5 separate regions of the Homo sapiens genome follow, and regions 2, 3, 4 and 5 are each linked to region 1. Evidence: promoter capture Hi-C in 16 types of primary human blood cells and fetal thymus (Javierre and others, 2016). All regions are on one chromosome and are shown on one strand. The core of a region is centred on a gene start or on the middle of the fragment in contact, and the rest is flanking DNA. Distances in the headings are between cores, read along the strand shown.

The links. Contacts are between HindIII fragments. The CHiCAGO score rates a contact against its expected background, and 5 or more counts as called.
Region 2: a fragment that was not itself captured here is called in contact with the fragment with the promoter of PLAG1 in region 1 in 2 of 17 cell types (non-activated CD4 T cells and neutrophils); the score reaches 6.2 in non-activated CD4 T cells.
Region 3: a fragment that was not itself captured here is called in contact with the fragment with the promoter of PLAG1 in region 1 in 1 of 17 cell types (naive CD8 T cells); the score reaches 7.8 in naive CD8 T cells.
Region 4: a fragment that was not itself captured here is called in contact with the fragment with the promoter of PLAG1 in region 1 in 1 of 17 cell types (naive CD8 T cells); the score reaches 5.4 in naive CD8 T cells.
Region 5: a fragment that was not itself captured here is called in contact with the fragment with the promoter of PLAG1 in region 1 in 4 of 17 cell types (non-activated CD4 T cells, total CD4 T cells, activated CD4 T cells and 1 more); the score reaches 10.0 in non-activated CD4 T cells.

Annotation. Positions count from the first base shown.
Region 1 is chr8:56,208,094-56,213,658 of GRCh38, reverse strand. It overlaps PLAG1 (PLAG1 zinc finger), which reads left to right and starts at 2,386. Exons shown (of 5, transcript NM_002655.3): 1 at 2,386-2,538. CHCHD7 (coiled-coil-helix-coiled-coil-helix domain containing 7) reads right to left here and starts at 1,870. Exons shown (of 4, transcript NM_001011671.3): 1 at 1,822-1,870. RefSeq lists enhancers at 1-121, 1,692-1,761 and silencers at 1,774-1,999, 1,842-2,401. The HindIII fragment of the contact is 9,849 bases long and covers 497-5,565 here.
Region 2 is chr8:60,503,441-60,509,005 of GRCh38, reverse strand. LOC124901949 (a long non-coding RNA gene) reads right to left here. Exons shown (of 3, transcript XR_007060922.1): 2 at 194-407. Among named protein-coding and RNA genes, the nearest start is that of RAB2A, 11 kb to the left of the region's middle. The HindIII fragment of the contact is 456 bases long and covers 3,303-3,758 here.
Region 3 is chr8:51,955,667-51,961,231 of GRCh38, reverse strand. No RefSeq gene overlaps it. Among named protein-coding and RNA genes, the nearest start is that of PCMTD1-DT, 59 kb to the right of the region's middle. The HindIII fragment of the contact is 3,639 bases long and covers 1,533-5,171 here.
Region 4 is chr8:52,642,996-52,648,560 of GRCh38, reverse strand. It overlaps RB1CC1 (RB1 inducible coiled-coil 1), which reads left to right. Exons shown (of 24, transcript NM_014781.5): 16 at 2,694-2,859. Among named protein-coding and RNA genes, the nearest start is that of RB1CC1, 69 kb to the left of the region's middle. The HindIII fragment of the contact is 515 bases long and covers 2,757-3,271 here.
Region 5 is chr8:52,705,614-52,711,178 of GRCh38, reverse strand. The region is part of intron 1 of RB1CC1 (RB1 inducible coiled-coil 1); the gene reads left to right. Among named protein-coding and RNA genes, the nearest start is that of RB1CC1, 6.0 kb to the left of the region's middle. RefSeq lists silencers at 3,319-3,478, 3,489-3,538. The HindIII fragment of the contact is 900 bases long and covers 2,250-3,149 here.

The DNA of each region.
Region 1 (5,565 bases), core at 1,137-3,636:
CAAAAGTTTAGGAGGCCGAGTCGGGCGGATCACGAGGTCAGGAGTTCAAGACCAGCCTGGCCAACATGGTGAAACCCCCTGTCTACTAAAAATACAAAAATTAGCTGAGCGTGGTGGCACGCGCCTGTAATCCCAACTACTCAGGAGGCTGAGGCAAGAGAATCGCCTGAACTTGGGAAGCAGAGGTTGCAGTGAGCCGAGATCGCGCCACTGCACTCCAGCCCAAGCGACAGCAGTGGAAGACGCCGTCTCAAAAAAAAAAAAAAGAGACACCCAGCCCAGTTCTACTATGGGAAAGATCAGGACGTCCAGGCCAAAGGAGACCAGCCTTTGCAAAAAAAAGAATGGAAAAGGGTTTGGTTATTCTGGTGTCCATTAAGTAATCACTGAATAATAATTTTATGATTTTCATTGAACAATACAAGAAAATAACCAGCCAACAGTAACATCTTGGCAAAAAAGAAATCAAGATGCTGTTCAATTATATCTACAAGCTTCTTCCTCTCCTGAAGACAATTTTTTTCCACACTTCCCTTCTTCCTAAGAGAGATGATGATAGTAAATAAATTCACAGCTTTCTTTTTTACACCTATCCTATGATGTGAGAACACAGAACTCTTCATACACCTTAGATTTAATAATCTCAACAAGGATCAGACAACCTTGCATTAAATTTAAGTTTCGTGCCTTACATGAAAGTATCCTACTCTATATTTTATTGTCAGTCAGAAATTCTTCAAAAATAATACCTAGGTAACATCACATATACCCAGTTCGAGTTTGGTGCATGAGTTTCTTCACATTTCATTTCCTTTTCCTTCCGGATTCTAAATACAAGGCACTCTAAGTTTGGATTTCCGAAAGTCCCCTCCTTTGCATGAGTTCCTCGTGTATTAACTGGAATTGAAGAGGAAATGTCAATTTACAGTGAGGAGCGGGGCTGAATTACAACATCGAGTGCTCCGCTAAAGGGGCCTTGTCTATTACTTTTTGAATGTACTAAATAAATGTTACAAGGCTCTACTACTTGCAGAGCATAACCAGAAAGAAAAACCAAGCAAAGATATGAAGGAGGGGCCACAAAACCATAGCACATTCAGGGGATAACTCTAAAATCCACTCCAAAGGGCAAACTGCTTAATAAAGCAGTTCCTGATTTCCCATCCAGTGGTTCACGTCCCCCCTCTCTAAGTAGCTTTGAAAGGGCAGGGGGAAGGAAACGTTTCTGAACACGTTCATGCCCACACGCCCCGTGGTCGGAGCCCAGGCAGGGTCCGCGGCTCTGCTAAACCCGGAAGCTGCACACGCCGTGCCGTTAACCCACTGCCAGGTGCAAAGTGGAAGGGGGCAAGAAGTCAAGGGTGGCCTGCCGGAGGTGGGCGCGCAGGGCAAGGAGAAACGAAGGGCGAACCCGAGGCCTCGCCGCCTTCCGCGGTGTAGCCCGTCAGCATCTGATCCTGGACGGCGCGCACAGGTGAACACACCTTGCTGTGCCGAGACCATGCCGAGAGAGACAAGGGGCGAGGAAAACGCAGGGAACTGGGGGTGGGGCCGGTAACTGCGCTTCAGAGGCTACACAGGAGAGTGGAAGAAGAGCTGGGGTTGCCCGGACTAGGCAGAGGTCATCTTCCTCGCCCCCGGAGCGAACAGACCCGTGTGGCGGGAGGAAGAGCAACGGGAAGAGGTCCGCGCTGCGGCGAAGCCTGGCGGGAGCGCCTCCGCGCCGCAGAAGTGCATTCGGGCCCCGCTACGGCCCAAGGGCACCCCTCTCTCCCCGCTTTTCTGCGGCCGCTTCGGAGGTAGGGCGGGGGAACCACTCACCTCCGGCCTCCGCTTCGCCAGCACCCAGGCCGTCTCCAGCTCCAAACACGTCAATGGCTCACGCAGCAGGACCTTAAGTAGCGCGCATCCCAACTTGCTGCCCCCGCTCCCCGGCGGCAGCCCGCCCAATCGGCGCGCGCCGCCGCCAGACTGACAGCCGCGCGGGGCCCTGGGCCGCAGGGGCGGTCGGGCCTCGCCCCGCCCCCGCCTGGCGAAAGGAGGGCCGAGGCGGGAGGAGTGGGCGGGGCGGTGAGCGCGACCCCGCCCCCTCTTCCCCCGCCCCACCGCGCCCCCCAGCCGCGGCCCGTCTCTTAACACTTCGGCTTGACGGGCGGCGTCGCGGCCCAATGGGCGGGCCAACTCCCGCCAGCGGCGGCTCCGAGTGGCCAGCTCTCGGGCGGAGCGCGCGCGGGGGGCGGGCGCAGCGGCGGGCGGGGTTTGGGGGCGGGCCGACGGGAGGCGGGGGCGGTGGCCGAACAGGCAGGGGGAGGCAGCGGTGGGCGCGACGTCGGCGGCGGCGGCGGCGGCGGCGGCGGCAGCTGCAAGTTGGGCTGCAGGGGCAGCGCATACACTACAATGGCTGCTGGAAAGAGGCGTAAGGAAACAATTTCCAGGCCCGCCGCGTCCAGCCCGAAATATGAGAAAAAAATTATTAGAAATTCCGCGGGCGGTGTAGAGGCGGCGGACGGGCCGGAGGGAGGATGTTAAAGCCCCGCGGTGAGTTCTCCGGGGGTCCGGGGCGGCGGCGAGGCGTTTAGCGGGAGAAATATCAGGGTTATTTAAATTATGGGACTAGCCGAGGGGGCAGAGGAGCAGCGGCGGCGGCAGGAGGAGGAAAAGTTTGTGCTACTCTCAGCCCCTGCTCAGGACCCCAGAGAGAAAAATAATAATAAAAAATAAAATAAAATAATTACGCGGGGCTGCGAGGACTCCCGAAGTCGCTTCTGACAGGGCAGGGGGCGATGCGGCTGGGGACCCGAAGGTGAGGTCGGTGGGAAAAAAAAAAAAACCTTTATTCAGGGTCTGGAAAGTTTGAAAAGTTTTCCTCCTCCTCCTCCTCCTCCTCCTCTCTGGTGCTGTGAATATTGTGACAGCGGCAGCGGCAGCAGCGAGAGCGGAAGACATTAGAGACCCGAAAAATAAGGGAAAAATTAATATAAATTCAGTTTTGAGAGTAAACTCTCCGCATTTTCCACCAAAACATCCCGGGGGAAGGTCGCTTCCCAAAGGGCCTGGCGGAAACCCGCAGTCGGCAATATTTGGGGGGCACTTTGAGTGACTTGGGGTAACTTTGCCCCTTTTTCAAAAGAGGTTTTTCTTTTCTGGAGAAATGAATTTGTTTTTGCCCTTTCCTCAGGTGGGCAAGCCGGGGTCGGGGTGCGGGGTCTGCAGGGAGGTGTGAGCCCGGGGTGTGTGGCTGCGAGGGGGGGTAGGGGGAGGGGGTGCTAAATGAAAGCAGGAGATCGGCACAGAGCAGGGACAGCTTGTTGTCAGTATCATAAACAACCAAAATGGAGGGAGAACTCAGGCATATAACCAAATAAAAATTTTTAAAAAATCGCAAAAAATCCCTAAAAATCCGGGATGCTCCCCCTTTTCTCGCTAAAGGTAAAAGTATGTACCGCCTTTCCCCTGAAGTCCATTTTGACTTTGCAGGGACCAAGGAGTTAATATTTATTTATTTTTTAAAACTTTCGAAGGGCAAAAGCCTTTTATAACTCAACCGACAATGAGAAAACGTGAAAATCCGATGCAAGAGAAGCAGGGGGAGCGAGGGGGGAGGTGGTAGTGCAGAAACTGCTAAACTTATTGGTAATGTGGACTGATCTCAGATAAGATAAACACTATATTTGCTATTTTATAACTCTCTTTTAATGATCTTTGCGGGGTTTTTTTGGGTGGAAAAAAAAGTGATGCCATTTTCTTAATAGAGTTAATATGTGTGATTGGAAGAATGAACCTTTCCGGCTTTAGATTGCATTTTCGTCGCATTTATGCTTCAGGTTTTGTTAGTGGCTCCCTCCTTTCTTTAAACTGGGCTCTGCAGAGGAGGGATAGAGAGGTGATGGTGCTCAGAGAGGCTGGAGTGCAAGGCTGGAGTACCTTTTGGGGAGGGATGTGGAGTTGCTTGGTTTCCCCCTTCCTGACATGTTTGCTTCACCTGTTCATCCTTCCTAAAGAATGTTAAGCTGAGGTTTTCTGGTTTTATGTGTATAAAAGGATGATGTCTCTTGCATCACATTGATGTTAATGGGAAAGTGCTGCTGATGTTGGTTCCACGTGGGATATGGGACAGAGCAGGGCATTTTAAAGGGACAGCTTCTCTTTTCTTATGGTTTTCATCACCTACACAGAATCACTGTCTGAGGACCAAAAGCAGAGGTGCTGGGAGGGTGTGGTGATGGAAGAGCCTTCCCTTTCTGTTACTCCAGTGCACCCACCCATAGGAGTGATGGAGGGACAGGAGGGATAAACAGCCTCAACCGAAGATGGATATGTGTATAGTTTGTATCCAAACTGTTCCTTTGTGTAACAAGCCCTCCCAGGAACTTTTCATGTTACATTGCTTTGCTTTGGAAGCTGATTTTGGAAGGAATTGTGGAAAAATGGAAATAGTTTAAGGTGTGTGGTGTAATGGTATAGCATTATTGAACAGTTATGAATTCTGTGCAGTGAGATCAAAGAGCTGTGTATGCCCATAATGTGATTTTACAGCCATTTTGTAAAAACTGTAAAATACCTTAATATTCAATTTGGCTTAAGGTACATTGAGGACTTCTGGTTGAAAATTACAGAGTGGTGAAGATTCTTTAAAATTGTAAGCAGTAGGCATTTCTTTAGGGGGAAGGAAAGCACACACACCAACACCATGGAAAAGTTTACACATCCATTTTTAAAGTCCATCCTATGCATGGGTTGTAACTTTGCGCCTTTGAAATGAAAAGATTTTTAAAATCCTGAGCCCTGTGAGTTTTCATTTTCTAAGTTGAATTTATTTGTGTTATTTAACAGAAAGTGTTTACTGACCATAAACTACTATCGGCTCTTATGTTTTAGATTTCCACGATATTTTCAAAATTTAAAATGTGTAAATTGTTAGCTGTACTATAATGGGGATTAAGGTTAATCTTCAGTAGAAATTACTTGTGTTCCATTTTCCACAGGTATATGGAGTTTCTGAAATAAATCCTTATTTCCTCTTGTTTTTATTATTTATAGACATGGATTAAAATTAGAGCTGAATTTTTAGACTTCTTATATAGAATGTTTTTTCTTGCCCTACTGTATAAACAAGTTATTATTTTTGTAGTCTATTGTATGTTAACTTGTGTTTACAACTGAGTTCTTCCAACTTTCTGTAAATACCTCTATACAACATCACATCAGTAACGTGTTTGAGTACATCATCTTGTGGTTTCTGATTTTGGAAGCAATTACAACTTTCTAAGAACTCATTAAAAGATTAATCTCATCACCCACAGTTAAATCAAAATTGATTGGAAAAGGATTAAGCTATCAATAGAGAAGGGAAACTCCTCCATGCCCAATGATCTTCTGTCCAGAGGTTTCAGAATGCCATTAAGACTTACAAAGCCTTTTCATTTTATCTTACGTTTTCATTGTATTTTGGCTCAAGACAGTTACATTGACTATAAGTAGTCAGAATTATGCTGTGCATTTAAAATAAATGAGACTTAGATCTTGAATAATTGCCACTTTGACAAACCAGATACTAATATCAAT
Region 2 (5,565 bases), core at 2,281-4,780, 4.3 Mb before region 1:
GGTTTGTGGCAAGAAAAATTGCTGTACTTCCACTGCTGTTTTAAATTTCCCAATGTATGGAATCTGGAGATCAATTCTCAGAAACCTCTACAAATGTTCAGATTATGAGAAAATACTGCACAGCCTTGAAACAACAATAAACATTTGATCTCTCACACAATTTTTGTGCATCAGAAATCTACGAGCAGCTTACCTGGGTGATTCTGCCTTAGGGTCTCTCATATGTTGCATTTAATTTTTCAGCCAGGGCTGCAGTCATTTGAAGGCTTGACTGGGGCTGGAGGATTTTCATCCAAGATGGCTCACTCACCCAGCTGTTGGCAGGAGACCTCGGTTCTTTGACTTCTCCGTAAGACTGTGTGAGTATCCTCATGACAAGGCAGTTGATTCCTTCCAGAGAGGGTGATCTGACATAGAACAAGGCAAAAACCTCAATGTCTTTGTATGACCTAGCCTCAGAAGTTGCATATCATCACTTCTGGTGTATTCTGTTAGTCCCACAGACCAGCCATGATAAAATGTAGGAAGGGACTACACATGGGCATTTATGCCAGAGGCAAAGGTCATTGGGAGCCACCTTGGTAGCTGGCTGCCACAAACCTGAATAGATAAAGAAATAAAAACAGACATCTAATAAATATCATCTGAAGTCAGATCCATTTTGAGTCAAATCATGTTCATGTGATCTATCTGCATACAATTTTGTTATAAATGGATTAGCCTATAAAGAAGTTTGTTGTGGTTTTGGTTTTATATACTGCTAGAAATATTTTATTTTATTTTATTTTATTTTTGAGATGGAGTCTCACTCTGTCACTCAGTCTGGAGTGCAGTGGTGCAATCTTGGCTCACTGTAACCTCTGCCTCCCAGGTTCAAGCGATTCTGCCTCAGCCTCCCGAGTAGCTGGAATTACAGGCAAGTGCCACTACGCCTGGCTAATCTTTTTGTCTTTTTAGTAGAGGTGGGTTGTCACCATGTTGGCCAGGCTGGTCTCAAACTCCTGACCTCAAGTGGTCTGCCTGCCTCAGACTCCCAAAGTGCTGGGATTACAGGTGTGAGCCACTGTGCCCGGCCTGCTAAGAATATTTTAAATAAGGAACTGACAAATAATTATTTTAGGCCAGTGCTGTGGCTCAAGTCTGTAATCCCAGCTACACAGGAGGACTGCTGGAGGCCAGGAATCCCAGACCAGCCTGAGCAACATAGCAAGACCCCATCTATAAAAAAAATAAAAATAAATTAGCCAGGCATGGTGGCATGCAGCCTTAGCTACTTGGAAGGATCACTTGAGCCCAGGGGTTTGAGGCTACAGTGAGCTATGATTGTGTCACTGCATTGTAGCTGGGGTGACAGAGTGAGACCCTGTCTCTAAACAACAACAACAACAATAATTGTATGGTCATTAGCAAGCAGTGAGTTTTTGATTAAAAAAAGAAAAAAATAATTGTGTAGTCAGAAAAGGAAGATCAAGCATATTTTTTCAGTTTTAAAAAAAGTTATATGCAAAGCAATTGTTTTAAGGCTAGAATACAATGACAAAGTAGATCCTAAAAAGGATTTTTTTTTTTTTAAGAATACTTGCTGTTTGTTTCCATTCCACGTCCTTAGGGATTTACGTGAACAACAGAGTAAACCGTTTATTTATACTTTTTCATGAACTTTGAATCATTTTTTAGAAACTGAATGTTTTCCTGCCTGTGAAAACTCTTATATCCAAATACTACAGCAGCTATTATCATTATGAATAACATTGTATATTATGCATCATTTTGCATTTTAAGTTAAGTTTAACAAAAGTTACACTAAATGGGGGTGGTGAAAGTACTGCCATTAGCCAAGCAAGTTTAAGGTACAAACCAGGAGGGAAGCTTCACTATCATTTGATTCCCCAAAAGTACCTTTTCTGATACTACAGTTTAGTAATCTTTATTAGAAGAACTGCAGCCTTATGTAATTTTGAAATCTTATCTTGAAGTTTTCATTACCAGACTTACTGAAGAACATTTTTTGCTCTTAGTATATGGGTATTTTAATTTTCTTGATACTGTATCTGATACAAATTATAATACGAAAGTGTCCGTTTGAAAGAGCAGAGTATTCAGCATTGACACACTATACTTTTTGTTGATTTTTCCTTTAGAAAAATCAATTATAGACAAAAACCTCTTTAGAACTAGATCCTTCTTCCTCTCCTTGAATTAACTGCATGCATTTCTGAAAGGTTCTTCTTTCACTTTACCTCAAAAGACACTGAATCCAAACACCAGTGGTGAGATTGTCTGATCTGAACTCTGAGATAAGCTATTTTGCTTTAAAAAAACAAAAAACAGACAGGTTATTGAATTACTAATTGAAATACAAAAACTAAATTACTTACCTTTCCTTTCTTGGAAACAAGCAGAGATGAGGAAGTATACGTGTAACATGGTTTGTTATAAGTGACCCAGTAGATAGGAAATTGAAAGTGGACTCAGTTTACAGGGATCCTTCAAGTAGTGTTAATTCACTCAAGAAAATTTTAAAGTTATTTAAGTAAATAACAATTTAATGATTTATTTAATGTAATCATATGAAAAAGAACATTTGAGACCTGTCATTCAGATGCCAGGCCCTTTGCCAAGTGCTATAGATAAAGAGAGAGGTAGACTTACCATGAACCTAATGAAGCTTAATTTCAGGGCCCCTAATTTGCAGAAACATCTTTTAATGCAAATGTGTTCACATGATCAGTTTTCTATTTTTGCAAATAAAAAGTTGCTAAAGTAAGATATTTAAACCTTAATCAGTGAATTCTATTGTCTCTCTTTAGTCTTCACTTCCATCTGTGACACTTGCCCTTGTGTTGAGAGGTGTTAGAGAATATTCACAGATCTTTTTTTTTGGTACTGGTTAAGGAAGAGTATTGTTGAAGATACACTTAGTTTTGTAAGATATATTAATTTGATCACTTGCACGTGTAGTTGAATTATTGCAAAGAATTGTCCAGTATAGAAATGGCTTCCAGAGACACTGCAATCTCTACTGTGCTGATTCACACTGCATCATATGATATAGAGGTTGTATCTTAATTTAGCATGGTCCTACTGGATTTGCTTTTTATTACTAAATTACTAAATAACCTTAGAGACTAAAGACAATACAGCATTGTGAGATAATTAGGGGGTATTGTCTTTAGCCTCTAGGGTTGTGGTAAATCTGGGCATCGTCTCACTGGATTCTCGACTCAGGATCTCATAAGGCTAAACTCAAGGTGTTGGCTTGGTTGCATCCTCATCTGGCATTCAGAGTTCCTTTCCAAGCTTACATAGTGTGGCCAGATTCATCTCCTTGTAGTCATTATTTCCTTGTTGGCTCTTACCTGGGAGCTGCTCTCAGCAACTAGAGGCCACTTGAACGACTTACCACGTGACCTACTCTATTTCCAGAGCTGGCAATAGAGAATCTCTCTCATTTTTAATCCTTCATGCTTTGAATCTCTTTGTCAGGAAGGGTGCTGTTCCCTTTAAGGACTCAACTGATAAGATCTGGCCCATCCAGGATCATCTTTCTATCTTAAGGCCAACTGATTTGGAACATTATTCACATCTACAAAATCCCTTCACAGCAGCACCTAAATTAGTGTTTCAACAACTGGAAAAGCATATGTGTATGCCAGGGTGCAAAAATCTTGGGAGTCATCTTATATTTCTACCTACCACACCTGCTGTGCCCAGCATGGAAAGTATATGGGTTAATGAGTTTTACCTATTATAAAGCTTTTCAACTCAGAATGTATATTTTCAAAGACCTGGAAGGAACATTCAAACATAAAGGAAATGAAAACATTTTCCAAAAGCTCACACAGCTAGAATACACCATTTTAGTGGCAATGTTTCTATTAAAACTAGTAAGAATTTATAGACTCCTCATTTATTTATGAAAAACCTGGATATGCTTATTTATTAGAACAAAGAGTTCATAAGAAGTTAACAGCATGTGCAATGAAAGCAATAAAGATGAATAATAAAATGAATAAAAGCTAGGTACAGTGGTGTATCTTGCCTGTAATCCCAGCACTTAGGGAAGCTGAGATGGGAGGATTGCTTGAGCCCAGGAATTTGAAATCAGCATGGGCAACAAAGTGAGACCTTGTCTCTACAATAATAATAATAAAAAAGTTAGCAGGCCACTATGGCATGTGCTTGTAGTCCCAGCAACTTGGGGAGCTGTGGTGAGAGGATTGCTTGAGCCCAGGAGAATGAGACTGGCTGCAGTGAGCCATGTTCCTGCCACTTCACTTTAGCCTGGGTGACAGAGCAAGACCTTGTCTAAAAAAAAAAGACTCAGTGGCTTTCTTGAACTCAGAAGAAAGGGGCCCCTGCCCTGAACCCTGCGTTTTAGAGTACCTTGCCCATCACAAATGTAAAAGCACAAACATACTTGTTTTTGTTTCTGACCTCATGGTTGCAGGAAGCTGGCTGAGAACAGGAGAGAATGGCTTGGGGGAAAAAAAAGCTCTTTCAAGTTGGCCACCCCAAATCACCCAGATGGGTGTCCAGGCAAATCAGGGCCTCTAGACACTTGCTCTTCTTTTCCTCTTCTACTTGGCTGGTATTGTTTTGAGAGGTGAATTTCTAGGAGGGCAAGATTTTTGTGTGTGTGTGAAACAAGAGAAAGGTTATCTGCTTAACCTAGCTCCCTGAGGAACTTAATCAAGTCACTCCCATTCTGGCATTTGGGTGGGTCCAGGCAGCACCCAAGAGTCCAGGACCTCACCAGGTCCAGCTCAATGACAGACTTTGTATGGAAGAACTGGGAAGGAGAAAAAAGTAAGCATGATTCCTGTTTATTTTGCCTGATGAACAAAGTAATGCAATTAATTGAGGTAGGAGACCAGGTATGTGGGAAAAAGGAGAGTGAATCAAAGATTCTGTTTTGGACATGTTGAATTGAGATGCCAGTAGACTTCTAAGTGATCTCACATGAGCGATTGGACATTTGAATCTGGAGCTTGGGGGAGTGGCCTGAGCTTGAGATAGAAATACTACATAGCTGGCATAATTGTGGGGGCCAAATGTTTTTTTCAACTATGTGCTAGACATTTGTAGTTCCTCTATTGTAGATAACATGCTTGTGTCCTTTACCTATGTATCTATTGAATCTCTCACAGTTATTCTTAAAATTTCCTAAAAGTTTAATGCAATAAAAAATGTTTAACAAACTACCTTAAATCATCTAATTTTTACAGCAAGCCTGGTACAGCTTTTTAAATTTTTGACTAATGAGAGTTGTGACCTCCACAGACAAATTTAAAAATCATCAGCATATAACAAATAAGAAAAACATATTTGTCGTCCACAAGGAAATGATGTATGCTTTATGTTCACAAAGCAAGGCTATATTGTGTCTCCCAAGGGGGCTCACAGGCTGGTATGTATAGTAAATCAGGCTTAGAAACCTGATTTCTCTGTATATCAAGAGTGAATTCATCTTTCAGGAATGGACTTACATTAACCTAGTTTATGAGTCTGATTTTTAAAAGCAGAAGGTCAAATTGCAATGAGAAATCATTGTCCCAGAGACAG
Region 3 (5,565 bases), core at 2,103-4,602, 4.3 Mb after region 1:
CTCTCCCTCAGCTCCTGGGCTCTACCCTCTCTGGTTATTTCCTCCTACCTGGTTGATCCCCCTTAATCTTCTTTGCCAGCTTTCTTCAGGATTAGACCCTTGGTGCTCTTTTCTCTCTACACATTCCTCATAGGTGGTTTCTTCTTATCTTATGTCTTAAATATCAACTATGTCAGATGCCTCGTAAATTTATCATTTTAGCCCAGAACACTCCTCTGAAGTCCAGACTTACATGTTTGACTGCTTGCTTGACTTTTTTATTTAGATATCTCTGTAAACATTCAAATTGGAATGATTTTTTTCCCCTCTAAGCATACCCTTCTTCCCCAATCTTTCCCACCATCCTCCTAATATCTCAGGTCAAAGTCTAGTGATCTATCTTGATCCCTATCTTTTGTTACCCATTATATCCAACCAATCAGTAAATCCTGTCGATTTTCCCCTTAAAACATATCTGGAATCATCTACCACTCTCTCTCCCATTCACTGGTGTAGGTCACTTCTCATTATAGGGTTTGTAATAATGTCAACAACTTACTAACTGGTCTCCCCCTTACTCAAATCAGTTTTCACACAGAAACCAGAGTAAAATTCATAGTACCTAAACTAAAGCATGTGTTAATTCCCTCCTTCAAATCCTCAAGCAGCTTCTGGTTGTACATAAATTGAAACCCCAGCTCAGCTGGGCGTGGTGGCTCACATCTATAATACCAACACTTTGGGAAGCTGAGGCGGGTGGATCACCTGAGGTCAGGAGTTCCAGACCAGCCTGGCCAACATGGTGAAACCCCGTCTCTACTAAAAATACAAAAATTAGCCTGGCATGGTAGCACATGCCTGTAATCCCAGCTACTCAGGAGGCTGAAGCAGAAGAATCCCTTGAACCTGGGAAGCGAAGGTTGCAATGAGCTGAGATTGCGCCATTGCACTCCAGCCTGGGCGACAGAGCAAGACTCCATCTCACAAAAAAAAAAAAAAAAGAAAAAAGACAAAAAAAACCCCAGCTCACAGAACGCAATGCCAATGCCCACCTGGATGGCCTCTTTCCTGCCCTAGATGGGTTCCTTGGTCCCCTTCAGCACTCCATGGCCACTCTGCATACTGCCAGCTTCTTTGCTTCTGGCAGGGCTGGGTTTATATGTTGCCATCTAAGACAGGACTTCCCTGACTATCCTCCACAGCAGGTTTCCCTCTGTTTCTCTTTCCCAGTGCCCTGATCTCGTTTTTTTCTTCATTGCATGTGTCACCATTTTTATTTTATTCATTTTGTTTATGTCATTGTATTTTTCACCATCTCCTCCACCACACTGTAAGTTACACAGAGGTAGGGACCATGTTTATCCAGTTTATCGTTTTAACTCCAGCACCTGTCACAGAGTCTAGTGAGTAACAGATCAATAAACATTAAGTCACAAAGGGCACATATTATAGAAAATGCACAAACAACTGTACTCTCAGCTCTCAGTTATTCCTAACTACAAAAACAAACAAACAAACAAAAACTATGATTTTAGCCCCTAACCCTTGAAGCTTCAAATCTATAAAATGGTGACTCCAGTCACATCTTCAACACAGGCAGCACATCATTTACTATTTCCTGACTACAAGTGGGAGGTGTCACAGTGTACTAGGGTAAAACAAAGTAGCAGAAAAGGCAAAAATCACCAGATACTATTTTTTCAAGAATAATCAGCACCCTGGCCTGCATAAGATTAATGTTCCCTATAGCAGTATCACACTTTGTATGAAAGAAGAGGCCACTTGGCCCCAAAGGTATTATGTTAATGCCTAATATCATGAAAACATGATTCACTTAGTTCAAAGAGGTAGAGAAATCCTAGGTAAATCAGTTGATTTTCTGTGTGGCATCCTGTCTAATGAGATAAAATTCAAAGGTTAGCTTTACAGTGAAAGCAAATCTTAGATTTCAAGAAACACCTGTGTTAGTCCAGATCTTTTATTTTTTTATTTTATTTTATTTATTTTTGAAATGGAGTCTCAGTCTGTCTCCCAGGCTGGAGTGCAGTAGCGTGATCTCAGCTCACTGCAACCTCTGCCTCCCAGGTTCAAGTGATTCTCCTGCCTCAGCCTCCCAAGTAGCTGGAATTACAGGCATGCACCACCACGCCCAGCTAATTTTTTGTATTTTTAGTAGAGACGGGGTTTCACCATGTTGGCAAGGCTGGTTTTGAACTACTGACCTCAAGTGATCCACCTGCCTCGGCCTCCCAAAATGCTAGGATTACGGCACCAGCCACCATGCCTGGCCTTTTAAATTTATTTTATTTTATTTTATTTTTCGAAGATGAGCCAGACTCAAGGCTTCAGCTTTGAATGTTTATCTGAGAGGTGCACAGCCAGAATGGTGAGGTGAGGAAAAGACAAAGTGAAGCAAAGGAACATGAGACAATACACTGTGTGTTACAATACGCCACAGTCATCTGCAAATTACAGACAGCCTTTCAACCAGCCTATCCTCATGCAGGACTCTGGAGCAGTCCACAGCAGAATGAAAGGAGGGAGAGGTGTATTTGCCCAGCTCCTTCTGAGGTAGGAAGTGGGACTTGACTTTGGAGGCAGGGTTCAGACACAAGAACAGATTGAGAACTAGCCAAAAAAGGGAAAAGGTGAAGGCACTTCTTCTTAAGACACACCCACTGGTGTGCCATGTCAGTTTACCATTGCCATGGCACTCAGAAGTTACTGCCCCTTTCCCTGGCAAAGACCTGATGACCCAGAAATTACCACCCTTTTTCTAGAAATTTCTGCATAATTCTTCCCTTGGTTTGCATACAATTAAAAGTAGGTGTAAATATGCCTGCAGAACTGCCTCTGAGCTGTTACTCTGGGCACATTACCTATGGGGGAGCCCTGCTCTGCAAGGAGCAGTCCCTCTGCTACTGCTGTACACTGTTGCTTCAATAAAAGGTACCGTCTAACACCACTGGTTTGTCCTTGAATTTCTTCCTGGGTGAAGCTAAGAACCCTCCCAGGCTAAGCCCCAATCTGGGGGGATCACCTGTCCCCCATCACTTCTATGTTCCATTTCTCATTGTTCAAAGGTCACTCCTTTGAACAATGTAGGAGTTAGAGGACTAACTCCTACACTTGCGGATTTTGTCATCTGGCCTCACGGTGGCCAGGTGAGAAGCTAACACCCATATCACTTCATGTTCCGTCATCTGTTCTGAAAATGCAGAGGTGACTCAGCATGAGCAAGCCACCAGCTGAGAGACAAAGGAGATAGGGGTCAGGGGAATGCAGCAAGCCCATCTGCAATCTTAAATTGTCTCTCTAATTTCCTTAACTGGAGACAATCCCAGTTAAATTTTAGCACTTCCAGAATAAGTTACCTCCTTCTTTTAGGAAGTTCTAACTTATCTTCAGCCACAGTCTGACTCCCAATGACTGTGTTGTTATTACTACCACTTACAGTGTTTTTACGGAGCACCAGGCAATGGACCGAGCACGCTACAAATGTTATCTCATTTTTTTTTTACAATAACCCTATGAGGTTAGTATGAGTTTCCTTAGAACAAAGATGAAGAAATGAAGCTGAAAGAAATTGACTACCATGTCCAACCTCCCATAACTACTGAGGAGTGAGCTGGCATGTGAGTTTGAGCTGCTGGACTCCAGGTTCAGGCTTAACCACCTTGGTGGACTGACCCCTTCACAACCCATTCATCAGGATTGTTCCTCCCGGTGATACAAAACCTTAATCTCTCATCAAAGTATAATTCTTCAAGTACTAGAGGCTGCTGTCACACCCTAAGCCATGACTCCACTGTCCACTCTTTATTTGTATTTGTCTTGGTCAAGCCACATCAGTCCTATAAAGGTTCTTGGAGATCATCTCTTTATACAGCCATTTCCTAACTTGGAGTGCAAATGAGGAGACTATAAAAAGACCTCCTCCATTCTCCATTTTAATTTGATCTTTCTCCAAGTAACATCACACACACACACACACACACACACACACACACACACACACACTCTTAAATCTTTTCTCACAGCATCTGGTACTAGAATCTGATATGAAGGAATTTATAGCTGCACTCCACAGCTTGTTTTTCACATTTAGGAGTGTTTTTGTTTTCCAGCAGAATTATCAAGTGTTACTATATTAAATGTATTTACAGTGTTTCTATTTTGTTTCCAGAAAATTATAATTTCTCAAGGACTTTGTGAAAATTAATTGCCAAAGCCTGGAAAAAGAAAACTAAGTTGCCGGGCGCGGTGGCTCACGCCTGTAATCCCAGCACTTTGGGAGGCTGAGGCGGGTGGATCATGAGGTCAGGAGATTGAGACCATCCTGGCTAACAAGGTGAAACCCCGTCTCTACTAAAAATACAAAAAATTAGCCGGGCGCAGTGGCAGGCGCCTGTAGTCCCAGCTACTCGGGAGGCTGAGGCAGGAGAATGGCGTGAACCCGGGAAGCGGAGCTTGCAGTGAGCCGAGATTGCGCCACTGCAGTCCGCAGTCTGGCCTGGGTGACAGAGCGAGACTCCGTCTCAAAAAAAAAAAAAAGAAAACTAAGGCCAGGCGTGGTGGCTCATGACTGTAATACCAGCACTTTGGGAGGCTAAAGCAGGTGGATCACCTGGGGTCAGGAGTTCAAGACCAGCCTGACCAACATGGTGAAACCCCATCTCTACTAAAAATACAAAAAAAAAAAAAATTAGCCAGGTGTGGTGGTGCGCACCTGTAATCCCAGCTGCTTGGGAGGCTGAGGAAAGAGAATCGCTTGAACCCGGGAGGCCGAGATTGCAGAGAGGCGAGATCACACCATTGCACTCCAGCCTGGGGGACAGAGCAAAACTCCATCTCAAAAAAAAAAGAAAGAAAGAAAGAAAATTAATGCCAGAATAATATTTGCTACTCTGTAATCTTTATTTCAAAAGTTCTAAATTCTATATGGTCATAATCCTTATCAATCAAATCTCTAATAGTCACAGAATATTAAATCACTCGAAGTAGAGATTACATTTTAGAATAGAGAAGTACAGAGAATAGTTGGGATACAGATTTGTACAAACTTTGCTTTGGATCATAGCTTTGCAACTTTTACTAGCTGAACGATCTTGGGAAAATTACTTCAATTATTTAAGCCTTGTTTCTGGTAAATTAAGGGTAATGGTTTCTATCTTAGAGGATATAAGGAAGCTTGACATAGGATAACAATAGTTTCAGACTCATTTTTTTTTTTTTTTTTTTTTTTGAGACAGAGTCTCACTCTGTTGCCCATGCTGGAGTGCAGTGGTGTGATCTCGGCCCACTGCAACCTCTGCCTCCCGGGTTCAAGTAATTCTTCTGTCTCAGCCTCCTGAGTAGCTGGGATTACAGGTGTGTGCCACCACGCCTGGTGACTCATCTTTAATAGTCAATAAATGGTCTGAGTATTTTTGACAATGGCTATTCTTACCATAAATTCATAATGTGGAAGTAAACAAGCTTTGTAGTCTTCAAGATAACTGATTAATATCTTTGCTTTATCACATTCAACCCTCAAACACTTTCCACCATACTTAGTGGCTCTATGCAGTTTTTTTTTTCAGGCAA
Region 4 (5,565 bases), core at 1,765-4,264, 3.6 Mb after region 1:
AACTGTGATACGCTGTAACCTTTTCTTCATGACCTCCCTCCCCTCTACACAGCTTCTTGCTCCCCATAGAAAGCTAGGCAGTGATGCTAGTTAAAACACAAAACCTATTTTAGCTGTTAGCCTTTCATTGCTAGGGTTAATTCCCCTGATAGCAGGGCCATTTCAGATCCTAGGGTAATGTAAAATTAAAGTTGTGTGGCGGATAGTCACTTGGAACATTTTCTAATGGGAGCTTCAAACAATATGGCATAGTATGTACTTTTGGCCGGATTAATACAGCCACAAGAAACCTGTCTTCAGTACAGGATAATGATTATTTTTCATGTCATAACCTGTGCAATCTTTGCTTTTACTTTGAGTCAGTAAATGAGATACCCTATGCTAATCATCTAGTGTTCTTATTCTGGTTTTGGGGATATGGTGTTTACAGAGAGTGTCAGGGGTGTCTATATCTGTTTGTGTACCTGGAACTGTGTCCTCTTGTCCCTGTATTATCTCAGCACAGCACTGACCCTGAAATGGAGTACCCCAAGCAATCCAAAGATGCAGGACACCTAGAAATTATAAGTACTGCCTGTGCATGGCCTCCCCTTCCTCTCTTGCACAATTTGAACCACACTTTTTCTAGTACAATTCTAGGATCCTTTATCATGTTGAAAGCTCTCCTTCAGGCTTCTTTACTGTGCCACATTTCTTACTAATATCCTTTCTCACAATAGTCTTTTCAAAGCCTAGATTCACACGATATCATTCTCTAGACCAAACCTTTCAATGACTTTATATGGTACTTGCAATAAAATTCATAACCTTTACTGTTCACTATCTGTCCTTCACATCTCCAACCTCAGTGCTCTCTTGATTTCCTCCTTAAAACCTGGCCTTATTTTTTATTCCTAAAAGTTTCAGCTTACCTTAGAACTGTGGAGATTTCTTCAAGGAAGAAATCGGCCAAGCAGGATTCTTTGTAAACCCTGCCTATACCTATTTTTATCCCAAGCACTTCATTATTAGTAGTCTGAGTCTCTTTGTAAGTCTCTTTGTGTTCCTTAGTAAGCCTTTGATTTATGTAGTATGTCAGTTTTCCAGCCATGGAGTAGTTTAAACTTGCACATCCCCCTCTTCTTCAGCCCCAAAGGAGAAACTTTAAAAGTAAATCCTTCGCCTTAATTAATTATATTATGGAATATATATTCCTTCCTTTAATTAACTATATTATGAAATAGGGGATTCCTATTCCAGCCTTTCTGGGAACTAAGTAAGGAGTCTCAGACTTTGATAGAGATATTATGTTTCAAACTGCATATTCTGCATTTGGCTGTATAAAGCTATCCCTTTGGAGGAAAGGTTATCTGAGCAGCAAGTTTAAGTTATTAGATTTTTATCAGGAAATTTGGAAGCATGAATAAAAGGATTCCAATAATTTTTTGTATGATTATTGATATAGTGTATTCTTGTCATATAATTAGATGAGGAAATTACATAAGAAACATGTAGAGTGAACATTTTAAATACATGCCCATATTAATTGCAGAACACACCCTGATTTCAAAAACATTAAAATATCATTTAAAAACAAAGAGGGACATTTAAGCCTAAAAATTGACCTGGTAAAGTGGTTTTTAGTAACAGCAACTTTTTGAGGCTTAGCATGTTTTAATACTAATGGGATTTTTCATCTGCTTCTTGGAGAAACCTTTTTTTAATGCTAAGGATTAAGTTGAAAGTAGATAAGATTAATACTTAGAAGTTATAATTAGAAGTTAATGAGTTATTAATTAGAAGTTAAACTAATCATTAACCAGTGTTTGTTCATTTCTTCTTACATTGTCCTATTCTCATCTCTAGCACTTTGTCAGCAACCCCTAAGAGGTTAGTAAGTCTTGAGGAAAATGAGTATGAGTTCAGGAATATGTAGATTTGTTCGTGTAAGCGCTTTTCAGTTTTAGCTTTGTGTTACCTACTTGCTAGCAGAAATGAACCAAAGACTATTTTATGGAAATTAAAGCATTTCAACATATGCAATCTTTAGGTGTTTCTTTTTTCCTAAGTCATTGTGTAAATTTCATGTATAGGAATAGCAAAACTGACATTTGAAGTTGAGTTTACCTATCTCTTATGTGTATAGTCCCTTACCAGAAAATACTTTTTCCTTATGTTGCCCAGGCAGGATTTGAACTTCTGGGCTCAAGCAGTTCTCCTACCTCAGCATGCACCACTGTGCTTGGCTGTTGTTTTTTTTTGTTGTTTGTTTGTTTGTTTGTTTAAGAGACGGGGTCTCACTTTGTTGCCAGGCTGATCTCAAACTCTTGGACTCAAGTGATCCTCCCGCCTGGGCCTCCCAAAGTGCTAGGATTACAGGTGTGAGCCACAGAGCTCGGCCAAAGAATAAAAGAATGGCTACTCCATGGGCAGAGCAGCCTCTTGATTTTTATGTATGTTGATATAAGCAAATTATCTGGAATTTATCTGCTATACTGATAAAAATCAGTAAACCTTGTTAGTGTCAGCATCTAATCTGTATTAAACTTTTACTTATTTCCCTTTACTTTTTAGATTCAAAGAGAGGGTTCACACAGATATCTTTCATGCTACATTATTGAGCTTAAGGAAGATAAATTTCCCAAATATGATATTTGGTATATTTGTGTGTCTGTAATTTTTTTTTTAATTTAATGCTGTATTTAATTTGTAAGTCCTGCCATTGACTCTACCAGAGGAGATTCTTCAAGCTTAGTTGCTGAACTTCAAGAAAAGCTTCAGGAAGAAAAAGCTAAGTTTCTAGAACAACTTGAAGAGCAAGAAAAAAGAAAGAATGAAGAAATGCAAAATGTTCGAACATCTTTGATTGCGGAACAACAGGTCTGTATCTCTTTTCCCATTTCATTTGAGAACTAAAGAAGGTAGACATAAATTAACAAATATAATTTCTTTATGTAGCTGAGGGTTTCTTATATCTTAGATGTGATGTTCCTTACATTGATCCTGTTAATAAATTTCCTCTTGACAAAAGCGTGTATTTTTAAGAATTTTTTTTAGTTTTTTTACTCATCTGGAGAATAATATTTTTCATGTTAACATGTCACATGACAATACCAGGTGCTTCAAAATGAGATAGTCTTAGATTAGAAGCGAGGGAATGTAAATTCTGTTCCTGGTTTCTTCGCTACCTATGTGATCTTGGGTAGATCATTTAACCTCTTGAGAACTAAGATTAGTTTTCTATGAAATGATGTTTTTAATTTAAAAAATGATTTTATTTTTTCTCTAAGCTTCAAATTCTCTAAACTTTGTTATCCTAAATTACATTCAGATCAACATAAATATCTTACCCTTTCTGTAATTCTTATCCTTCTGATAGGCTGGTGGTAGATTAAGATGGAATATTATTGAATTTTGTTAATGTACTTACTGTTGTTGGTCAATAGTAAGAGGTAGTGCTTGTGAAGTATATTGGGGTTAGATAAAAAACCAGATGCCTTGTTAGAGAGCTTGTACTTTACCTAAAGTACCGGACAGCAACTAATTACAATGGCATAATTAGATTTATGCTTAATGAAGATCACCCACTGGAACATGGAGAAAGATTGGAGAACTGCAAAGCAGTCAGCTGGAAGAGCAATTTGGTAGCTACTGCTAGAATTCAGGCCAGGGATAATATTGCAGTTTGGGGTATACATTTTGAGGGATACATTTCTGAAACTGCATATTTATGGTTATTGTACACATGTAATATTATGTGGTATTTTTCCTTTTCCTAAAATGTTATGATTAATTAGTGTCTTTGTGGAATTTGAAAAAATGTAAATCAGAGAACAGAAAGAAAATAAAGTATAGTTGAAACCTCTAACAATTTTAGATTTTTAAGGCCTAGGGAAAGAAAGAAGAGCCTGGGAAAAGGGAATGAGAAAAGCACAACCAGAAAAAAAAGTGTGTGGCTTAAGGGAAGCCAAGGAAAGTTAAGTGTTCAGGGAGGAGGAATAGCCAAGTTTTAAGTAAGAATTAACAATGAGGAGGTCAGTAGTAACCTCTCTCTAAGAATCTGGATTTATAGATTCTTCTCTATGATTCATTCTGCATATTGATCTCTTTATCTCCTTGTGTTGCATTGTCTCTTTGTGTGTTCTCTTATAAGCACATGTACAATTTCTAAAATTAAGTAAAGAATGAATTAACTGAAACCAAAAGTATAGTATTGACAGCTGTCTAATTTACTTCTTCATGTTTTGATGTCTCTTTTAATATTTATAAAATAAGAGTGGGAGAAATGACTTCTAAGGTACCTTCCAATTTTCCATGATGTGTATGTTAAGTTGTATTTATTTAAGGTTATTTGTACCTAGCTCTGTATAGGTGATTTCTGAGTTGGAACTAATTGGTTCTTAACTAGCCCCCTTTTTTCATATGCCAATTACAAATTGTGATCTTCCTAAAAATTCATTTCAAATTACAGAAATGGCAAAAATCATGAAAATAAACATAATGGTTTATATGTTTTTGTGTTTATTTTCTATATATAAATAAAATACATAGAGATGGCTTAATACAAAGCCATATCATAAATGTTTCTTTTTGAGAGATCTTCCTGTATGCTTTGTGGCCAGAAATTGTATTTAATTAAATATTTAATGAATTTATTAAAATTTTATTAAAAATGCTGTATTACTTTTCCTAAATCTCCCTATTGCCAGCATTGTTAGCATTATTCATTGATCCAAGGACCGTAGAGCTCTTAAAATTTTGGAATTAGAAATGCTGGGCAGATGAGAAGAGTCAGTTTAGATCATTTCATCATTCATCTATTGCTTTTACATTTCAAGAAGCTCAAAAATCTTGTAAGTAAATTTTTTTTTTTTTTTTTTTTTTTGCCTCTTAGAGACAGGGTCTTACTCTGTCATTCAGGCTGGAATTCAGTGGTGCAATCATGGCATGCTATAACCTGGAACTCCTGGGCTCAAGCAGTCCTCCCTCCTTAGCCTCCCGAATGGCTGGGACTACAGGCATGTGCCACCACACCCAGATAATTTTTGTAGAGACTCGATCTTGTGTTGCTCAGGCTGGTCTCAAACTCCTGGGCTCAAGCAGTCCTCCCACCTCAGTCTCCCAAAGTGCTGAGATTACAGGCATGAGCCACCAAGTCCGGCCTAAGCAAAATTTTTATACAGATTCAGTCATCTTTATTAAAGAAACTGTGCAGTTAAAATTGCCAGATTGTCTCATGAGATCCATGCAGGCAGTTGGATATGTGAGCTTCATAGTAGAGTTTATAAAAGTGGGGGAGTAATAAGTCTAGCCAATATAAATCAGCATTCCAGTGACCATTGCAGATATCCAAATAAGAGAAATAAGGAAGATAGAGTCATATCTAAAATGTTAGGGTGGTGATCAAATGCTAAAGACAAAAGGAAGGTTTCAGAGGCAGGATGATTACTCCAGGAAAAAAGTAAGTGTCTAACAGCACTCTAAGTTATTGATGCTTCTAATTCTTCAAAATTTCAAAATCTCTGACAGTAAATATATGGACAATAATAAGAAAATAGGATTTGCTTTCAAGAGACTTAAATTGGA
Region 5 (5,565 bases), core at 1,450-3,949, 3.5 Mb after region 1:
TGCTTTCATGGCTGTTTAGTGAGTGCTTTGAGGATTGTGGAATAACAATCCTCGCCCATTTTTTTTCATCCATGATTTTTTTCTACCCGTTAGTTTGCTCTTTTGAACTCTCATATTTTATTGGCTTGTAATTGTGCTAGGAGATAAAAATAATTGTGTTCCATTTCCTTTTTTTGTCACTGATTTGAGACTGTCCACTCATTTTTCCTTCACATTCCACACATTATACTTGTTCAGTAACTGTCCAGCATACCTGTTGAAATATTAATTCAATACCATATTATATTACAGTAATATAACGGCTTTTAGTAATTGTTTTACTGCAAATACCAGATTTGGGCAGGCTGGTTTAATAATTTGGTTATATGTTTATAGATAATCTTGGTTTAATAGAATGCAGCTAATTCTACATTTTCTTTTTTTTCCCCATTTTCCCTGTCTTATATAATTCTATATTTGCTATATAGATAATTTTGGTTTTACTGTTAGTTTCCGTTATAAAATAAAACACAACTAGAAAATTTTCACTAAAATCATGCATTTTATGTAGTTTTTATAAACGATAGGGACACCAAAATGTGTAATGCATTTATATGTACTGATACAGAAAGATTTCTGTTATTTTATGCAGTTCAAGCAAAGTCCATAGTAGTATGTAGGGTGTCACCTCATTTTTATAAAACCATATTGCCTGAATATACACATATTTCCTGTACACCTAGGGAAAAAAACCTGAAGGGTGTACTCCAAAGTATTTTTCATTTTTGTTTTAAAAGTATTCCTGTTCTGCTATTTTTACCTCATTTGCTGTCTTTGGGCACTACCTTTCTAAATGCTCGCTTCATTCTTTTGGCGAAGTTGCTTGTCTAGTTTGTAGACAAGGCGTATATTTAGGAAGTCTGAACTTTTATGAAAAAGGTTTTCTTTCAGGGAAATGTGAGGAAAATGCCTGACCTACTCATCTTTCATTCTTTTTCTTGGCAGAGAAGGGGTAGGATCAGATTAGAATACATCTGATTTGGGGAGACTGATGCCCAGTTTTCAGTCCCTGGGCAACCTAGACACTCCGTTTGTGGTGGACATTATCTCCATTGATGCAGTAGCCCGTGACCCCTCAATGAGGGAGAATTGCTAATAATTGCAGTTTACAGAATTAGAGATCAGGCAAAATTATTTCCAATCATCTTTTCTCTGAAGCTTTTAGTCCACTTTAGGGTTATCTGAGTCTCATGTGTTCTATTCAGCTGGAAAGCATCTTGAAGATATTTGTATTCCAGGCACCTAGCAGTGTCTGGCTTATGTTTAGATGCCCCCAAAATAGTGGATGAATAATGAATGTGTCCAGTTTTGAAGGTCAGAGATTGTCATTGGGGTGTCCCCCTTTCACCTTATCATATAAGGAAGCGAATTCTGTTTTGTTTGTTTGTTTTTGTTTTTTAAGGCAGAGTCTTACTTTGTCGCCCAGGCAGGCGACAGGCAATGGTGTGATCTAGGCTCACTACAACCACTGCCTCGTGGGCTCAGATGATCCTCCCACTTCAGCCTCCCAGTAGGTGGGATTACAGGCATGCACTACCACTGCCAACTAATTCTTGTATTCTTAGTAGAGACGGGGTTTCACCATGTTTCCCAGGCTGGTCTTGAACTCCTGGCCTGAAGTGAGCCACCCACCTCGGCCTCCCAAAGTGCTGGGATTACAGGCAGGAGCCACTGTGTCTGGCCTAATTCTAAGTTTTGACTGTATTAGAATAGTTGACAGTAAGGCTGGGATAATTGACTTTATCATCATGATAATCTCTCGAGAAAATTGTAAATCTCCACTTGATAAGTTGGATAGATTTTAATGAGTATGTGAGATACTTTCTGGTTCTTTTCCTCAAATATGGATATATATGGGTTCAGTTGTTATTCCTGTACATCTGGAAACAAATGCAGTGGGATCAATATATTTTTATTTTTATTTATTTTTTTGAGATGGAGTTTCACTCTTGTTGCCCAGGCTGGAGTGCAATGGCATGATCTCAGCTGACCGCAACCTCTGACTCCCGGGTTCAAGCGAGTCTCCTGCCTCAGCCTCCTGAGTAGCTGGGATTACAGGCATGTGCTACCACACTCAGATAATTTTGTGTTTTTAGTAGAAATGGGGTTTATCCATGTTGGTCAGGCTGGTCTCAAACTCGCGACCTCAGGTGATCTGTCCGCCTCTGCCTCCCAAAGTGCTGGGTGGCATATAAAGTGGACTAAAAGCTTCAGAGAGAAAAGATGATTAGAAATAATTTTGCCTGATCCCTAGTTCTGTAAACTGCAGTTATTAGCAATTCTCCCTCATTGAGGGGTCACGGGCTACTACCGCATCAATGGAGATAATGTCCACCACCCTGTCGGATCAATATTTTTTAAAATACAGCTCTCTTCTCCCCTTCATTTATAGCTGACTGTATCCTAGGAGGATTTAGGAGGACCAGATGTCCTCATAATGAGAGATAGGTTTTTCCCCCCAGATAAGAGAATTCCTGCTACCTTATATTAACTACTTAAGAGTTCTGTAAATTCAGAGAAAGGAGAAAGAATACTATAGGCCACCTGTGATAAGGGAAGACTTCCCAGAAGTGGTAATAGGACAATACTTGGACTTTTGTTTGTTTGTTTGTTTGTTTGTTTTTGAGACGAGTCTCGCTCTGTTGCCCAGGCTGGAGTGCAGTGGTGTGATCTCAACTTACTGCAAGCTCCGCCTCCTGGGTTCACGCCATTCTCCCACCTCAGCCTCCCAAGCAGCTGGGACTACAGGCATCCGCCACCATGCCCGGCTAATTTTTTTGTATTTTTAGCAGAGACGGGGTTTCACTGTGTTAGCCAGGATGGTCTCGATCTCCTTACCTTGTGATCCACCCGCCTCAGCCTCCCAAAGTGCTGGGATTACAGGCGTGAGCCAGTGTGCCCGGCAATACTTTGACTTTTAAAGATGAGTAAAATTCAGATCAGCAAAGATGGGGGTATTTTACCTGGCAGGAGTATGTAAAGTGAGGGTATAGGTTTGTCATGTAAGGGAGTAGTTGATGATACTGCTACAAAAATAAACTGGGGTTAATTATGAAGTTCTTGAGTGCTGGAGTTTAATTAAAGTCATAATTGCCACCATTTTTAAAGCTTTTAGTATATTCCTAGCACCGTAAAGGACTCTGAAGTACATTATTGCTATCCTTCTCATCTCTGTGAAAGGTATCGTTGCAATTTATAGATTGTCAACTGATATGTGGAGGTTACCTGAGCCTCAGTGAGATAGATGGTATTCAAATACAAGTAAATTTTGTTCCTAAGTCTGCCATTTTTATGTTAATCTAGCCTATATCAAGTTGGCAAATTCACATGCTAAGAGGGGTGGGCAGATAGTACAATTAAGTGAAACTGTCTGAGTACTGAACCGGAGGTGACAAAGAGAGTGTAGCTGTAAAGAAACTACAGATTTGTGCCCTGCTGTAGGCAACAGTAAGGTGCTAGGGAAGATACTTGAGGGAAGCAGCCTGACTACCTTGGTTGTAACTGGTAGGGAGTATTTAGGAAGGATTGAAGCCGGATAGAGATTTAAAGACAGAGAGAAGAGGTTGCAGTTTCCTAAGTAAGGGTTATGTCATTGGAAAATGAGGGGTTGGATTAGAAAGGAAAAAAATGGGTAGGACTTGGACAGAAATAACTGAAGCCTGGTCCATTGTCACTTTGGAAAGTTTGTAAAAAAAAAAAAAAAAAAAGAAAGAAAGAAAAAGAAAAGAAAAATAACTGAAGTTTGGGGCAATAGTAGAATGATAGTTCATTGACAGTGAATAAATTAGGGAATAGATTTAAAGGAAAAGCACCGAATTTAAATTTGGACATGTTGAGTTTGAGGTAACAGTAGGATTTCCAGCTGGAAATATGAAGCATCAGTTACTGCTAGCTCTAAACTCAGAACAGAGATCTGGATTAGTTAATAACAGTAATTGATGTTTGTATTTCACTTTATGGTTTACATAACTTCCATATATGTATAGATTATTCGTTAGATCCTGACCACAACCCTGTGAGACAGGTACTTTTACTTTTTGTAATCAAATGAAAAAACTTGTTAGGTGAAGTCAGTTCAGGTCACATTGGGCCAGGACTTGAATATACTTCTTTTGATTCCAAATCTCATGTTCTTTTCACAGTTCTGTTCTCCCTCTTATGTTTACATAAAGATAACAATTGGGGCGTGGTGACTCATGCCTGTATTCCCAGAACTTTGGGAGGCTGAGGCAGACAGATCACTTGGGGTCAGGAGTTTGAGACCAGCCTGGCCAGCATGGCGAAACCCTGTCTCTACTAAAAATACAAAAAAAATTAGCTGGGTGTGGTGGTGGGTGCCTATAATCCCAGCTACTCTGGAGGCTGAGGAGAGAGAATCTCTCTCTCTCTTTTTTTTTTTTTTTTGAAACAGAGGGAGTCTCGTTCTGTAGCCCAGGCTAGAGTGCAGTGGCGAGATCTCGGCTTACTGCAAGCTCCGCCTCCTGGGTTCACGCCATTCTCCTGCCTCAGCCTCCCGAGTAGCTGGGACTACAGGTGCCTGCCACCACGCCCGGCTAATTTTTTGTATTTTTAGTAGAGACGGGGTTTCACTGTGTTAGCCAGGATGGTCTCAATCTCCTGACCTCATGATCCGCCTGCCTCGGCCTCCCAAAGGAGAATCTCTTGAACCTGGGAGGCGGAGGCTACAACGAGCTGAAGGCTGCAGTGAGCGGAGATCGCACCACTGCACCCAGCCCCTAGGTGACTGAGTGAAAGTCCATCTCAAAAAAAAAAAAAAAGATAACAGTTGGAAGACTAAACATGAATGACCATTTAGGGAAGGCTATATTTAGAATGGGAGTGGGGCAGAACTCCCCTAGGACCTCAGATTGGGACTGAAATAGGGAAGGCTGGTGGGAATCTTTGTCTTGCTCTCTTGGTGGGACTAACTCTTTTGGTGCAACAAATTCAGGTTCTTTATTTCTTTGTAATGTATAGGGTGTCATCTTTTTTTTTTAATGGATATGTGTTTTTCCCCTCTAATTATAAATGTGATTTTTAAAAGAACTGGGAGAAAGTAAAAGTCTGGCATCCAGAGATAGCCAGTGTTAAAAAGATTGCTATTAAATTGATCCAGACTTTTTAAGTGCTTGCATATACATATGTCCTCCTGCATTAGTTGTAAAAATAAAATCCACAAACAGAATCACATAATATATACTGTAAATTGCTTTTTGTACTGATCAATACGTATAGATCAAAACATTTTTAAATGTCTAAAATTTGATACCTTATAGGGTTGTGTAATAATTTATTATTTTTTTGGAGAGAGGATCTTGCTGGGTCACCCAGCCTGGAGTGTAGTGATGCCATCATAGCTCACTGTAGCCTCCAGCTCCCAGGCTCAAGCAAGCCATATCCTCCTGCCTCAACCTTCTGAGTAGCTAGGACTATAGGCATAATTTATTTAACCAACCTCCATTGATAGTTTTTAAATTCATCATTTTAAAAAGTGATGGTATAATGAAAATCATTGCATATATATAC